Regions from separate parts of the Homo sapiens genome. Here regions 1, 2, 4 and 5 are each linked to region 3. The links are contacts of gene promoters, found by promoter capture Hi-C in human tissues and cell types (Jung and others, 2019). All regions are on one chromosome and are shown on one strand. The core of a region is centred on a gene start or on the middle of the fragment in contact, and the rest is flanking DNA. Distances in the headings are between cores, read along the strand shown.

Region 1 (2,700 bases), core at 63-2,562, 440 kb before region 3:
GGGCTGGTTTGGTGAGTAGGGGCAGCAGTGGCAGAACTTCCCCAACTCCCACCTCCTGGTGCCTGGAATGCAGCTGTGATGGCTGGAACTCCCTGGAACTCCAGCCTAGGTCTTTTCTCTTCCTTCCCCTAGCCCCTCAATAGCCTACTAGGAGACAGTTCTCCTTCTCAAAGAGAAAGTGTCTACTTGACAGTTGATGGAACAGTTGTTACTGGTTTCCCTGAAATAGCTCTTCGGTCAATTCCCTTGCCTCACCTCATCTAATAAACATGAAAACTGACCCTTAATAAGCATTTTCCACTTTGCTGGCAGTGTACTAAGTATATTCCATATATTATCTCAAATAAATCTTATCCCAGTGAAGTAAGTTGTGTTATTATCCCCATTTCGGACAAATATAAAGGCTAAGATAGATTAGGCAGCTGGCCCTGCTGCTTGGTCATGCAGCAGGGGAGCTGGGATTTCAGCAGAGGCCTGTTGGCTTCTGGACTGTGCCATTACACTCAGCTGCCTATTCATCTTTACTCAAGTCCCTGTTAATGTAGGTCACTCAGAGGCATTAAAACACCAATTCATGGATTTCTATCGCCCTTTTCTCTGTTCTTATTATTGATATTATACAAATTTTTCTTAGCAAAATTCTTAATTTGACCCCTTGCTGACCATGTGATTTGATTACTAAAACGTTAGTTCTCAGTCCTCTTCCCTGGCAGAAACATCTGAGGGAGTAGGGACAGGACGGGGAAGGGTCAACTCAGTTCCCTTAATTCAGATACTTTCAGCACCCCTCTGGCTTCTGTAAACTGGCTCGTCCTGATGCCCCCTAAAGGATCCTGTCTGCCTAATGTTTTTTCTAGGAAAACTTATCTTACCAATGGCCCTTGCATAATGCCCCTTTTTCCTTTCAGTGGAGTAAAGGCTGGGCCACCTGTAAATGGTTAGTGCACTCAGGGATTAACTTTAATAGTAAAAAGGTCCTAAGCATTCTTAAACAAGTGTTCAGCTTACAAAAATTGTACGACATTACGCTTACGTGACAAGTGTAATACAGTTGTTTGGTTTAGTAAATGCCTAAAGGAGGGTCATTGGAGATGAATTTGTAGCTTCAGTAGGTTCTGGTACCAAGACCAGCCCTCATCTGTATGATGGCAACTGAAGACTTTCAGGATATTGATTACCTTAAGAAGGAATCATTTGTTAATTCACTGACCACACTAGGTCCCACCGACCCAGCCTTCTTGAAACTCCTTTACCTCAGAATTTTACCACGCCATTCTTACATAGTACTATTTATTCGTGTTTTTTTGTTTGTTTGTTTTTCTAGATTGGTTTTGCTTTAACTTGGTCTTAAGCTTCTGGAGGATATAAAATGAGTATAGTGAGTTTGTTTTCACACTACTATAAAGAACTACCTGAGACTGGGTAATTTTTAAAGAAAATAGGTTTAATTGACTCACACTTCAGCATGGGTGGGGAGGCCTCAGAAAACTTAGAATCATGGCAGAAGGTAAAGGGGAAGCAGGGCATGTCTCACATGTGGCAGGAGAGAGAGCATGTGTGAATGAGGTGGGGAGGTGCCACACTTGAAAACCATCAGATCTTGTGAGAAATCACTATCACGAGAACACAAGGGAAATCTGCCCCCATTATCCAGTTACCCCCCACCAGGCCCCTCCTCTGGCGTATGGGGATTACAATTGGAGATGAGACTTGGGAACACAGAGCCAATATCAGTGAGTCTCATCAAATACACGTGTGGGGGAGGAAAAGGGAAGAGGGGAAGGAGGAGGATAGGGACCAATTTAAAAAGCATGGTGTAGCATCCTGCCACTGCCAGCAAGGAGCATATGCCCCCAGGGAATGTCTGGGTCTGGCGTCCTCAGTGGGCCTCAGTACTGTACAGTCATGTACATATGCCACATGCACTGCGCTGCCCCGATGGTGCTCTAAGGAACTGACTATAAGCAAACTTTAGTATCTAGCCCCTAGCATAATATGTGATTTCCCCCGAATTCAATACTTAATACTTGAGTGAGCCTGATTCCCAGGTGAAAACGCTGATGAATGCAGAGGCATAGATTAGGGTATTAGGCAGCTACATCTTAAGAATTTAAGAACAGTGGTACTCATTCAGCTTAAAAAGCTGCTTCTGTGGAATTTGCATGATTTCTCTTTCATGGACATACTCACTGGTGGGCTACAACTGTTGGCATTAAAAATCCAGCACCAAAATCTAGATGAGATGCTTTCATCATCTAAATCTCAAAACACTGAATACGAGATAAAATTACACAAATAAGTCTTTAAAACTTTCTCAGAGAAAAATTATAACAAGGATTTCAAAAGATTCTGAAGGGAAATAAAGGCAAGTATGATACAAAATCCGTCTAATAGTATATAAGTAAAATCCCAAGATATCATATCTATCTATGACATCTCTCTCTCCATATCTACATCTAATTTTAACCAAAAGAAATCTCCTTGGGAATAAGTCTGATTAATGGCTTCTAAAAATGACTGAGGAAATATTTCCTCCTGAATTTCCTTATTCAGTCTTTACTCATTACTCTCAAAATAACACAATAGGAGCCTAAAGAAGCTAAATGACCTATTTCTTCAGAGAATCCATTTCTTAAAGGGAAAATGAAATATTCCCACTTCAGGTGGAATCACATTTATATAACCTGTGCATTTTTTTTG
Region 2 (2,700 bases), core at 154-2,653, 290 kb before region 3:
TCTCTTCAGCAGCCCAGCGCTGGGCAGTGGGATGACAGCAGGAATTGGCCTTCCCATGATCCTGCCCTGCCCACAGAATGTGCCAACTGTTTCCACAGGGGGTACAGGGTTGTGACTCTCCCCACAGGCACTGAAGAGCAGGGCCGACTTGTTACTCAACACCAAGCCCCAGGCTGGAGTTCACAGCCTCTCCCTGGGCTTCCTGCCTTCACTCTGTCTTCTTGGCAGGCTTCTCCTGCTCTCCAGAGCTTCGGCCTGTGTGCCACCCTCTCTCCTGATTATCCAGTTTGTTTGCTGTCTTGCCAGGCTCCCTCCTTAAATTTCTTGCCAATGGAAGCTCTTTCTCCTTTGTTCCCTGACCCTGCCCCCCTGCCCATTCTCCTCAAAGCCTACTTGCCCCACCAGGCCCCTTTGTGTCTCTGCTCCTCCCACCTCCAGTCTCTCACCCCCTCACCTTCCCAGATCTTGGCCCCACTGGGTCTCCCTGCCAATGCCGGGTTGTGCCCACAGCCTTCCTCGCACTCCTGTCCTGTGCCAGCTGGGAATGACCAACTCTAATGAGCTGATTGGACTGAAAGTGAGTGAATGTCCTCATGCCTCCACTCCTTCCCACCTCAGCAAAGCTTTTCAGAGTCCCATTTCTGATGGAATCTGAATCTAGAAGGATTTAGATCCACGGAAAACTGTTAAACCTCCAGTGTTTGGCTACGTGTGAAGTCTCTGGCAGTCCCTCCCACATCTGATGTTATGAACACTGTTTATAGATGCCTGGAAAGAAGCTTTTAATACTTGTATTGTGTTTTAACTTGCTTTCCTTTGGAGGCAGGGAATTGTCAAGTAAGTATTCACACCGCTCTGGAGACAAACACAGGTGTTTGGTGAACATCCAGTACTAAGTGTTCACGCAGAATCCACAACCGCGAAGGGTCAATACTTAAAATCCGCTGAATTTGCCACAATGCAGGTTTCTTCCCCTTGCTCCTCTCATCTTCAGTTTTGAAGCAATACAGCTGTAAACATATGCTTGCGAAATGAGAAAGAAACATTGAGATTGCTTTACCTTTCGGTTTTTTTCTGAAAATCAAGGTGAAAAAAAAAAGCATCGGATTGCGTCTGTGTATATATATACAATCTCCTGTATATATAAATACACGGTGTTTGTGCTTGTACGCATACTCTATATTCACTGTATAATATATTACATATTATACAACCTGTGTGTCCCCTGAAATCGAGCCCTGTGTTTATCCTCAAATAATGCCTTATGAGCCATGCCATAGTTCCAGTGTCCTCTTGCTCTCCTCATAGCCCCTGGCTTGCTTTTGTCATACACTTAAACGTTCTTAGGTGAAAGAAGAAACCCACGGATTTCATTTGAAAGTCCCACTAAAACAGAAGAAAGAGCAGATGTCCTGGGAAGCGATAATTAATGTGAAGGAAGTGTCTAATTGTGAGAACTGGCATGCCCCCAGTCTCCCGATTTTGCTCAATTTGGTGGCGATGATGTCAGCCGGGGGTGTCGTTTTGCAGAGATGTGCTGTCTACCCATTCTTCAGTGGTGATTATAATACCGTTTGGTCCAATTATCACTTATGATTACATAACGTGTTTTGATTGAAGAGTTTCTGAGAAAATAAAGGTACCCTGTCTTCCCCTGCACACAAAAAGAACCCCCGCAAGCCATTCGAGCAGGCAGGCTGACCTACCAAGAAACACTGGGAATTATTAGGCTAAATTATGAGTTGAACTTGATTTGGAAACAAAGTATCCATTGTACATAACTCCCCACGACATCCAGGAAGATGTCATTGTTTTTCTGACAGCAAGTTTCTCCCCAGCACACTCTAAGCAGAGTCCCCGGGCGCATTCGTAAAGTCACGGAGAGTGTGCGGGAAGCATTGACAAAGCTTCCTTTTCTCTCCCTATTCTGTAGGCGCTTTAGTGCAGAGTTTGCCCAGAGACGCCAGGGTATGAGCTTTCTGAATTTGTAGACTGGTGCACTCTTTCATTTCTGTTTTAGTTCTTTGCTGGCATGCTGGGGAAGCATGGTGTGTGCCACACAGGAATGTCTGTTCACTTGGAAAATGCTTGTGCATGAATGAGGTGGTTGCTAATGCGGCTCTAAACTGTACTAAGTTTCTCACTTGGCTTTGTTTGCTGCTTTCAAGGGGATCAAGGTAATCCTTCTCTTTGCATATCCCGGGAGCAATAACTAATTACTTTGGAACATGCGGTGGGAGCTGGTACAGTTCTTTCTCGACCCATCCATAGAGAAATCTGATTTAAGGAAACCCCACGTCACCAAGAACTGGCGTACTCCTCTAGGATTCCATTAGGGCTTACACATTATAAAATCTCTTCATTAAATTTGGAGGCCCCAGACCCCAAAACGGAGGCGGGAAAAGCAACCTTTGGTGTGGTAGCAGCTGAATGCAGACCCGAGTCCTGAGGCGAGGGCGGAGTGGGAGGCGGGAGTGCTGTCTGTCTCCTGTCCCTCTGCTTCCTGCCTGCCTGTCTGAGAAGTGAGGCCGACCTAGGCACTTGGCCTGTGGTCCTTAGGGCCCTTTCCGCAGCCTGGCTTGTAAGTGCCACTTCACGCCACACCATGGCCATCGACAACTTAATTCTGAACAACATGAGCACATCCCTGTCTGAAAAAGGTCAGCAAGTCCAGGAAATGTGGCCTCCCGCCCCTCATGG
Region 3 (2,722 bases), core at 14-2,513:
ATTTGAGGTCAGGAGCTAGAGAACAGCCTGGCCAACATGGTGAAACCCCATCTCTACTAAAAATACAAAAATTAGCCGGGTGTGGTGGTGGGCGCCTGTAATCCCAGCTACTCGGGAGGCTGAGGCAGAAGAATTGCTTGAACCTGGGAGGCGGAGTTTACAGTGAGCCGAGACCGCGCCACTGCACTCCAGCCTGGGCAACAGAGCGAAATTCCGTCTCACGAAAAAAAAAAAAAAAAGTTCCAGGAAGAATAAACGACTGGATTCTTCAGAAATGCCAAAACACGGGAGGGCATAGGTCAGGAAATTAAATTAGCTTCATTTACTAAAATGTAGAGTAATGGGTTTAGCAGATTAGGTTGTAAGGAAGGCAGAGGCTGAATGTCATTCTAAGAAATTTGAATTGTATCCTGAAGGTGAGGTATAAAATAATAACACACATTTACCTTTCAGAATGAATATTTTGGAGGCAATAGTGAAGGTGGGTTAGAAAGGAGGAAAGACTGGAGAGAGATAAGGAGTTAGATTCGGAACCCCTACAAGAGAAAATTAAGGTCTGAATTTGGGGATGGGGTCGCAGAGGGCAGAGGATGAAGAAATAAATACAGAAGACATTAGAAAGGACTCTGGTTTGTGGAGTGGAGAAAGGACAGGGAGAACTTGCTTCTAATTGGCCTCCTTGCCGGAAGAAGCACCCCATACATACTCCAAAAACTTCCTCTCAGATCCAAGACTCCCAATGCCCAAATTTGGAAATTCTACAACTAAATAACCATTCTGCAGGTTTCTTTTCCGTACGGCTTCACTTTAAAATTTGAAAACTCCTGAGATTTTTCAACATATTAAAGCGTGTCACACTAAGGAGTGACACACAAGACCCAGACTCTTCCCTAGGCTGGGAGAGACTCGGCGGTTGAAAGCAGGGAGGCGCTACAGGAGAGAAAGGGCTGAACCCCCGCTTCCGCAGATTTCACCTATTTTTCAGTTTGCCTGGAGCAGGCCACGCAAATTCCCTTCCCTTGAAGGCCCAAGGAGCGTCTGGTAGATTGCTGATTCTCTGCCCATCACCGCTTCTGGAAGTGAGTGAAGGACACCTTTCGTGCCCCGCACCCTTTGCCCCCCGCTTAACATTTGCTCTAGTCACTTCCGGCCCGTTCCCACGCTCCGGAAACCATTATTCCGCTTCATCCTACCTCCAGTCCTCACCTGAGTCCTTTTCTCCAAACACCGACTTCAGTGCTTAGAGATAGTAACTAGGGAATCTGGGAGGTGGAACTGCATCTTGGGACAAGTAGTCCAAGGTAGAAGAAAGCAGTGGAGAACTACAGTTCCCAGAATGCACTTCCATTTCCTACCTCTTCCCCAAGAGGCCCCCCTCGACCTCCTTTTAAAAATTCTCTTAGCCACGTTGATTGTACGGGAAAAGCCTTTTTAAAACATCTTTTACGTTGCTTAAACCTACAGTTTCGAAAGCATTCCGAAGGCTAAAGTGAGAAATAAGCCCAGGCTAGGGAGAGGAGAAACGAAGTTCACGTCCTAGTCTGGCACCGGGTTGGATTGTCGCTGGGACGGCAGTCAGGCATTTGGTGTGGTCGCCTAAGGGGTGGGTCCTTCGGCGGGAGCTCCGGGAAACCCCGTGGGCCTGCGCGGCGTTCTTCCTTTTCGATCCGCCATCTGCGGTGGGTGTCTGCACTTCGGCTGCTCTCGGGTTAGCACCCTATGGTGCCTTCTCTTGTGATCCCTGACCTAACCTGTCTCTTCCTTTTCCTCAACCTCAGGTGGAGCCGCCACCAAAATGCAGATTTTCGTGAAAACCCTTACGGGGAAGACCATCACCCTCGAGGTACGGGCCGGGTGGTCATGAGGAAGCCAAGGTCCGAATAAGGTCCTGAGGTGGATTTTAGGACCGGCGCTGCTTTCCATGTCTTAGACCATGATTCCGAATTTGGGTTCTAAAACTTAAGCTTTGAAATGAGTACCTTTTGCTGAGCAACGACCTAGAGGTGATTTTCGGTGGCCAAAGGCTGGACCTGTCTCCTCTCGAGGGGTTCCAGCTAGTTAGTTAAAACGGAGGAGCTGCGGTGGGGAAGGAGACGCTCTGCCCGCCGGGTGCGAGCACGTGTGGCCCTGCGGCCGCCGCCCGCTCTGGGCTGGGGAGATGAAGGTGCTTTCCGGTAGCCGACTTGGGAGGTTGCCCACTGGGTGGGTAATAGGTCTCTCGAGTAGGTCTCAGCCCTGTCGCTGGTTCGGTTCAGTGGTAATTGTCAAACTAAATGAGTTCTGCTGTAGTTCCTTAATGTGTAACCAACATGCTTTCACTTTAACACTCATAGGTTGAACCCTCGGATACGATAGAAAATGTAAAGGCCAAGATCCAGGATAAGGAAGGCAAGTAGTATTTTGTAGTTAAGAAAACTTAACCTGCGGAGACTTCGGCCTACCTGTAGGTGCTAGACATACCTGCTCTTGGTGATGGGGGAAGGGGTCAGATTGACAAAGCGAAATACTTGTGGAATAACACAATAGACATTGGTGATCGGGGAGCACAGTACCTAGATTGGAATCCTTGAGGTGTATTTCACTTGCGTGAATTTGGACACTTATTTATTTATTTTGTGTGAGATGGAGTCTCCTCTGTCGCCCAGGCTGGAGTGCATTCGCTTGTCCCGGCTTACTGCAGCCTCCGCCTCCCGGGTTCAAGTGATTTTTGTGCTTCAGCCTC
Region 4 (2,700 bases), core at 135-2,634, 380 kb after region 3:
AGTAAGGAAGAAAGTGATGTGAATCAATAATGACTTTTCAATATCCAGTCATATGACATTCAGCTTGACTCATTCTAACTCCTTTTAGGCTCACAATTTGGTACTTCATTTATGAAAGAAAAGATGTATCTTGAGCACACAATTTAGTAGTTGGCTCATTTTAAAACTATAATGTTAAAAGAAGAATGTTAAACATTCCCCTCTGAATTTACTCAATTTTTTTTTTTGAGACAGAAAAATCGCTTTGTCTCTCCACCTGGAGTGCAGTGGTACAATCATGGCTTACTACAGTCTCGACCTCCGAAGCTCAAATGATCCTCCCGTCTCACCTCCAGAAGTAGCTGGCACTATAGCTGCGCACCACCACACCTGGATAATTTTTGAATTTTTTTTGGTAGAGACAGGGATCTTGCTATGTTGTGCAGGCTGTTCCCGAAATCCTCAGCTCAAGGGATCCTCCTGCCTTGGCCTTCCAAAGTGCTGAGATTGCAGGTGTGAGCCACCATGCCTGCCATAGTCAACATATTTTAATACAGCAAAATGGCCTATAAACATCTCATTCACTTACTCATTAAGTTTTTAATAAAAAACCCGCTAATGGAAACAAAAAATTTAACCCATTACTGCAGTCCCAGCTACTGGAGAAGCTGAGATGGGAGGATCACTTGAGCCTAGGAGTTCAAGCTCAGCCTGGGCATCATAGCAAGATCCCATCTCTGAAAACAATTTTTTAAATTTTAACTCCACTACTGAACAACAGACTTCATGTGATATTTGGAAATTAATAACTTTCTAGACTAATTTATTGAATAACCTAAATGATGCCTTTTACAAAGGATAATTCTAACAAACATAGAAAAATGTTACTGTATTTGGAAATCTCAATTTGTGTAACTTCAAATAACTACAAATTAAGCTGAATACAGCCACTGCTCACACCTGTAATCCCAGCACCATGGAGGTGCTGAAGCAAAAGGATCACTTGAGGCCAGGAATTCAAATCAGCCTGGGCCACACAGTGAGACCGTCTCTACAAACACAACAACAACAAAGTTTTGTAATAAATTTTTTAAAGGTGCAAATTTAGCCTGGACAACATAACGAGACCCCATCTTTACAAATTTTTTAAAAAATTAGTAAGGTTGGCCGGGCTTGGTGGCTCACACCTGTAATCCCAGCACTTTGGGGGGCCGAGGCGGGCGGATCACGAGGTCAGGAGATCGAGACCATTCTGGCTAACACGGTGAAACCCCATCTCTACTAAAAAATACAAAAAAATTAACTGGGCGTGGTGGCGGGCGCCTGTAGTCCCAACTACTTGGGAGGCTGAGGCAGGAGAATGGTGTGAACCCGGGAGGCGAAGCTTGCAGTGAGCAGAAATCGCACCACCACACTGCAGCATGGACGACAGAGCGAGACTCCATCTCAAAAAAAAAAAAAAAATTAGTCAAGCATGGTGGCTCACATCCATAATCCCATCTACTCAGAAGGCTGAAATTGGAGGATCGCTTGAGCCCAGGAGGTTGAGGCTGCAGTGAGCTGTGATCAAACCACTGTACTCCAGCCTAAGGGACAGAAGAAGACCCTCTCAAAAAAATTATTTTCAAAAGTGCAAATTGAAGATTTGGGTGAAAATATGAAAAACCATGTCTATTACAAAGAAACTAAGTTTAACATAACCCCTAAATGGCCCTATGATTTCAATTAGAAAAGTGTACTCAATTTAAACAAAAATAAACAGGTAACATCATTCACACAAGTTTTTCACTCTTCTTCAGTGTTTCCATATTCTTCTCATTACCAGAGTTCTCTTATACACCTGAATGTTATGTTGCCAAAAAAAAAAAGCCCAACGAAAAAATAAACTATTACAAAACCCCAAATAGTATATTATTTAAATGTGATTACAGAAAACATTTCCAAATGGTGTAATTTTTTTAAATAATGCATTTTTTCCAATACTTTATACTAAGTGTATACAAAAATGCTAATTATCTAGAACTAATTTTCTAGTAGAGCAACATTATACATGAAATTACCTACATATCCTAATGATTCTAAAGTATTCACAGAATCACTATGTATTTTTAACTTATGTTGGGTGACTATTTTAAATACAAACCTACTCCATAATGTGATGTTTCCAAAGTAACAACAGCTAAAAGATCTTATATACAATCTGAGAAGAATCCATTATTAAACCTAAATTTGTAGGGAACTGTTTATGACTTAGTTACATTTAAGAACAAAGTTCCTGATAATTATATTCATGCAGATAAGGGAAATATGGTAAAAAAAAAAAAAAAATTAGTATTTCTTTCCCCACAAAGAAGCAAGCAAACAAAAACAAACTAAAAGTGATCATCTGGTAAAAACTCGGTATAAAGACAGAGATTAAGAGCTGCCTGGCTGACTGAGAAATTAAATTTACTTAAATGTCTACCTTACAATGTCTAAGGTATAGGAAACATCTTCAGGTTTTCAATTCAGGACAAATGTTTAATTTGCTTCTCCATCAAAAAAGACACACAATATTTTCTAAACAGAGAAAAAAGCTATGAATTGAATATTGAAAATTTTAAAGTATTTCAAATAACTGATTAAGAATGTGTTATATACATAATTGTTCTAACAGTAAGACTTTGTAATAATAAGCTGCACAACAGACAGAATTTTATTCCTCCAACTACGAAGTACTTG
Region 5 (2,500 bases), core at 1-2,500, 410 kb after region 3:
CTAAATAGGAGGCTGAGGTGGGAGAACTGCCTGATCCCAGGAGTTCAAGGCAGCTGTGAGGTACAATGGCACCACTGTATCCCACTGTGGGTGGCAGGGTGAGACCCTGTCTCTAAAGAAAGGAAAATGCTCAGCATAGTATATTACTTGATATTACCTGATTTCAGTTATTGTGGCGGTATATACTGCTCCAAATTCTAATTGCTGCTCCTGCTGTAAGTGCAAAATAAGCCATAAGATTCATAAAGAAAACATCAACAAAAAGTAGAAAAAACAAATATAGCTATATGATACGTAATTAATATGATCTATACTTACATCATCCTTGCAGATTTCAGTAATGAAGTCTCTTGCCTCATGCATAGCACTGGGTGTTGGTGCAAATACAGAAAACGTTTCTTCATCCACCTGACTAATAGTTACACCTTTTAAAAACAAAATGTAACATATTAAAGTTAACTTGGCTGGGCATAGTGGGTCACATCTGTAATCCCAGCACTCTGGGGGGCTGAGGTGGGAGGATCACTTGAGCTCAGGAGTTCAAGGCCAGCCTGGGCAACATAGGGAGAGCCTGTTACTACAAAAAATAAATTCAAAAATTAGCTGGACCTGGTAGCATGTGCCCACCTACTTGGGACTCACAGTCGGGAGGATCACTTGATCCCAGGGGTCAAGGCTGGAGTTAGCTGTGATTGTGTACTGCACTCCAGTCTGGGTGACAGAGCAAGGCCCCATCTCAAAAAAAAAAAAAGTTAACTTGCTCATTCCAGTGGAAACTCGTCTTAAAAATAGATGTGAGAATAGGAGGGACCTATTAGTAGCTGGGTGGAGTTATGCTGTATTTAATCATTACTTTAGGAATGAAGGAATTCATTCATCAACAAATACACTCTGCATACTTGCTAGGTACCTGGCATTATACTAGGTAGGCCCTGGGGATACAATGGTGAGCCAATATGCTTGATTTCTTGAAATTCACCATCTAGTGAAATCAAATATATCTATACAAATTTTGGAGAGTCTGGTTCTGCTCTCTTAATTACGAGTAGAAACTATAATAGAACCCTTTCCTTACTTTTTTTCTTTCTCCCGCTTACTCTTACGAGGGGTGAATAAATGAATAAGGGACAAAATCACATCAGTTTCTCAGTGTTAGCAAATGGCTAAGGTGACAGTGCTTCTCACTCTCTTGCAGTAACCTCAAACCTTGAAGTACGAGGTAATTCAAACATTGCTTCAGGAAAAATAAATTAAAGCTTTTTTTTATATACTCTTTAAATAAAAGAGTTAAAATAAAACTAAGTGAAAGTAGCAGAATAAAAAGAAATAACTAAGTAATAATTCCTCTAAAGTTAAAAACTAAAAATTATTCTAGATGTTCAACTATAAAATGTTGCAAAAAAGTCCTGATGAATTCTTTGTAATCCTTCTTGAATTTAGTTAAGAATGACCATTTGCTAATTTATTAATAGGCACACAGAAAACTCACAGTCAAGACACGTCATATCCTTTTCTCCTGGTCTTTCTCTCATTTCTCAAATAAATATATATTTAAAGCAACATACTAGAGATGAAATAGCAAACTTTTATGGTCTAGCATTTAATTAAAAAACCCCAAACTTCATACAACTCTTACCTGTTTCAGCCTGAAGTTTTTTTAAGTTATAGCCACCAGGTCCAACAAATTTTGCTCGTTTTGATAATGGAACCTGAACAGTTTCTGGAACGTAATACAGACAAATATATAAACAATTCAACTACATACATGAACCTAAAACATGCCATGGTCACTTGAGATTTTTTTTTTTTTTGACCTAGACACATGTAAAAATATTTTACTATAAAACAGAAAAGTAGATGATTAAAATTACTGAAAACTGTTAAAGAATATTCCCTAAAATTTAAAGCATTTTAACTACAAAAGTATTTAAAATATTTTCGTTTTGTGCACTGGGTAAAAACAATTTAAAAGCAGTAATATTCATTCATATATTAATGTTTATCTTACCATGATCACTAAAATTTTTTTTTTTTTTTTTTTGAGACGGAGTCTCACTTTGTCGCCCAGGCTGGAGTGCAGTGGCGCGATCTCGGCTCACTGCAAGCTCCGCCTCCCGGGTTCATGCCATTCTCCTGCCTCAGCCTCCCGAGTAGCTGGGACTACAGGCGCCCGCCACCACGCCCGGCTAATTTTTTGTATTTTTTAGTAGAGACAGGGTTTCACCGTGTTAGCCAGGATGGTCTCGATCTCCTGACCTTGTGATCCGCTCGCCTCGGCCTCCCAAAGTGCTGGGATTACAGGCGTGAGCCACCGCGCCCAGCCGATCACTAAAATTTTAATGTATTACCTACAACAGGTCCATTTTCTTTTCTAGATGCTCGAGGTTTTGAAATAGTTTTGTTCATGATCTGTAATATCTCCTTTTTTGCCACTAGAAGAGAAAAACACAAAAATTATAACTACATAAAACAAATATGATCTGAAATACTGTACTCTTAG

Evidence for each region. Contacts are between HindIII fragments. The study calls those that stand out against the background at their distance.
Region 1: a contact is called between a fragment that was not itself captured here and the fragment with the promoter of CLHC1 in region 3, in 1 of the 25 tissues and cell types used here (H1 embryonic stem cells).
Region 2: a contact is called between a fragment that was not itself captured here and the fragment with the promoter of CLHC1 in region 3, in 1 of the 25 tissues and cell types used here (hippocampus).
Region 4: a contact is called between a fragment that was not itself captured here and the fragment with the promoter of CLHC1 in region 3, in 1 of the 25 tissues and cell types used here (hippocampus).
Region 5: a fragment that was not itself captured here is called in contact with the fragment with the promoter of CLHC1 in region 3 in 1 of the 25 tissues and cell types used here (pancreas).

The regions. Positions count from the first base shown.
Region 1 is chr2:54,793,752-54,796,451 of GRCh38, forward strand. All of the region lies in intron 2 of EML6 (EMAP like 6), which reads left to right. Among named protein-coding and RNA genes, the nearest start is that of EML6-AS1, 44 kb to the left of the region's middle. The HindIII fragment of the contact is 3,012 bases long and covers 1-2,700 here.
Region 2 is chr2:54,945,838-54,948,537 of GRCh38, forward strand. All of the region lies in intron 28 of EML6 (EMAP like 6), which reads left to right. Among named protein-coding and RNA genes, the nearest start is that of RTN4, 100 kb to the right of the region's middle. The HindIII fragment of the contact is 3,016 bases long and covers 1-2,700 here.
Region 3 is chr2:55,231,030-55,233,751 of GRCh38, forward strand. It overlaps CLHC1 (clathrin heavy chain linker domain containing 1), which reads right to left and starts at 1,264. Exons shown (of 13, transcript NM_152385.4): 1 at 1,194-1,264. It overlaps RPS27A (ribosomal protein S27a), which reads left to right and starts at 1,659. Exons shown (of 6, transcript NM_002954.6): 1 at 1,659-1,679; 2 at 1,779-1,843; 3 at 2,334-2,388. The coding sequence starts at 1,796. RefSeq lists enhancers at 1,309-1,738, 1,759-1,938. The HindIII fragment of the contact is 6,944 bases long and covers 1-2,722 here.
Region 4 is chr2:55,611,519-55,614,218 of GRCh38, forward strand. The region is part of intron 2 of PPP4R3B (protein phosphatase 4 regulatory subunit 3B); the gene reads right to left. Among named protein-coding and RNA genes, the nearest start is that of PPP4R3B, 4.8 kb to the right of the region's middle. The HindIII fragment of the contact is 4,245 bases long and covers 1-2,700 here.
Region 5 is chr2:55,643,001-55,645,500 of GRCh38, forward strand. It overlaps PNPT1 (polyribonucleotide nucleotidyltransferase 1), which reads right to left. Exons shown (of 28, transcript NM_033109.5): 22 at 2,349-2,432; 23 at 1,637-1,720; 24 at 319-425; 25 at 158-213. Among named protein-coding and RNA genes, the nearest start is that of PPP4R3B-DT, 26 kb to the left of the region's middle. The HindIII fragment of the contact is 3,308 bases long and covers 1-2,500 here.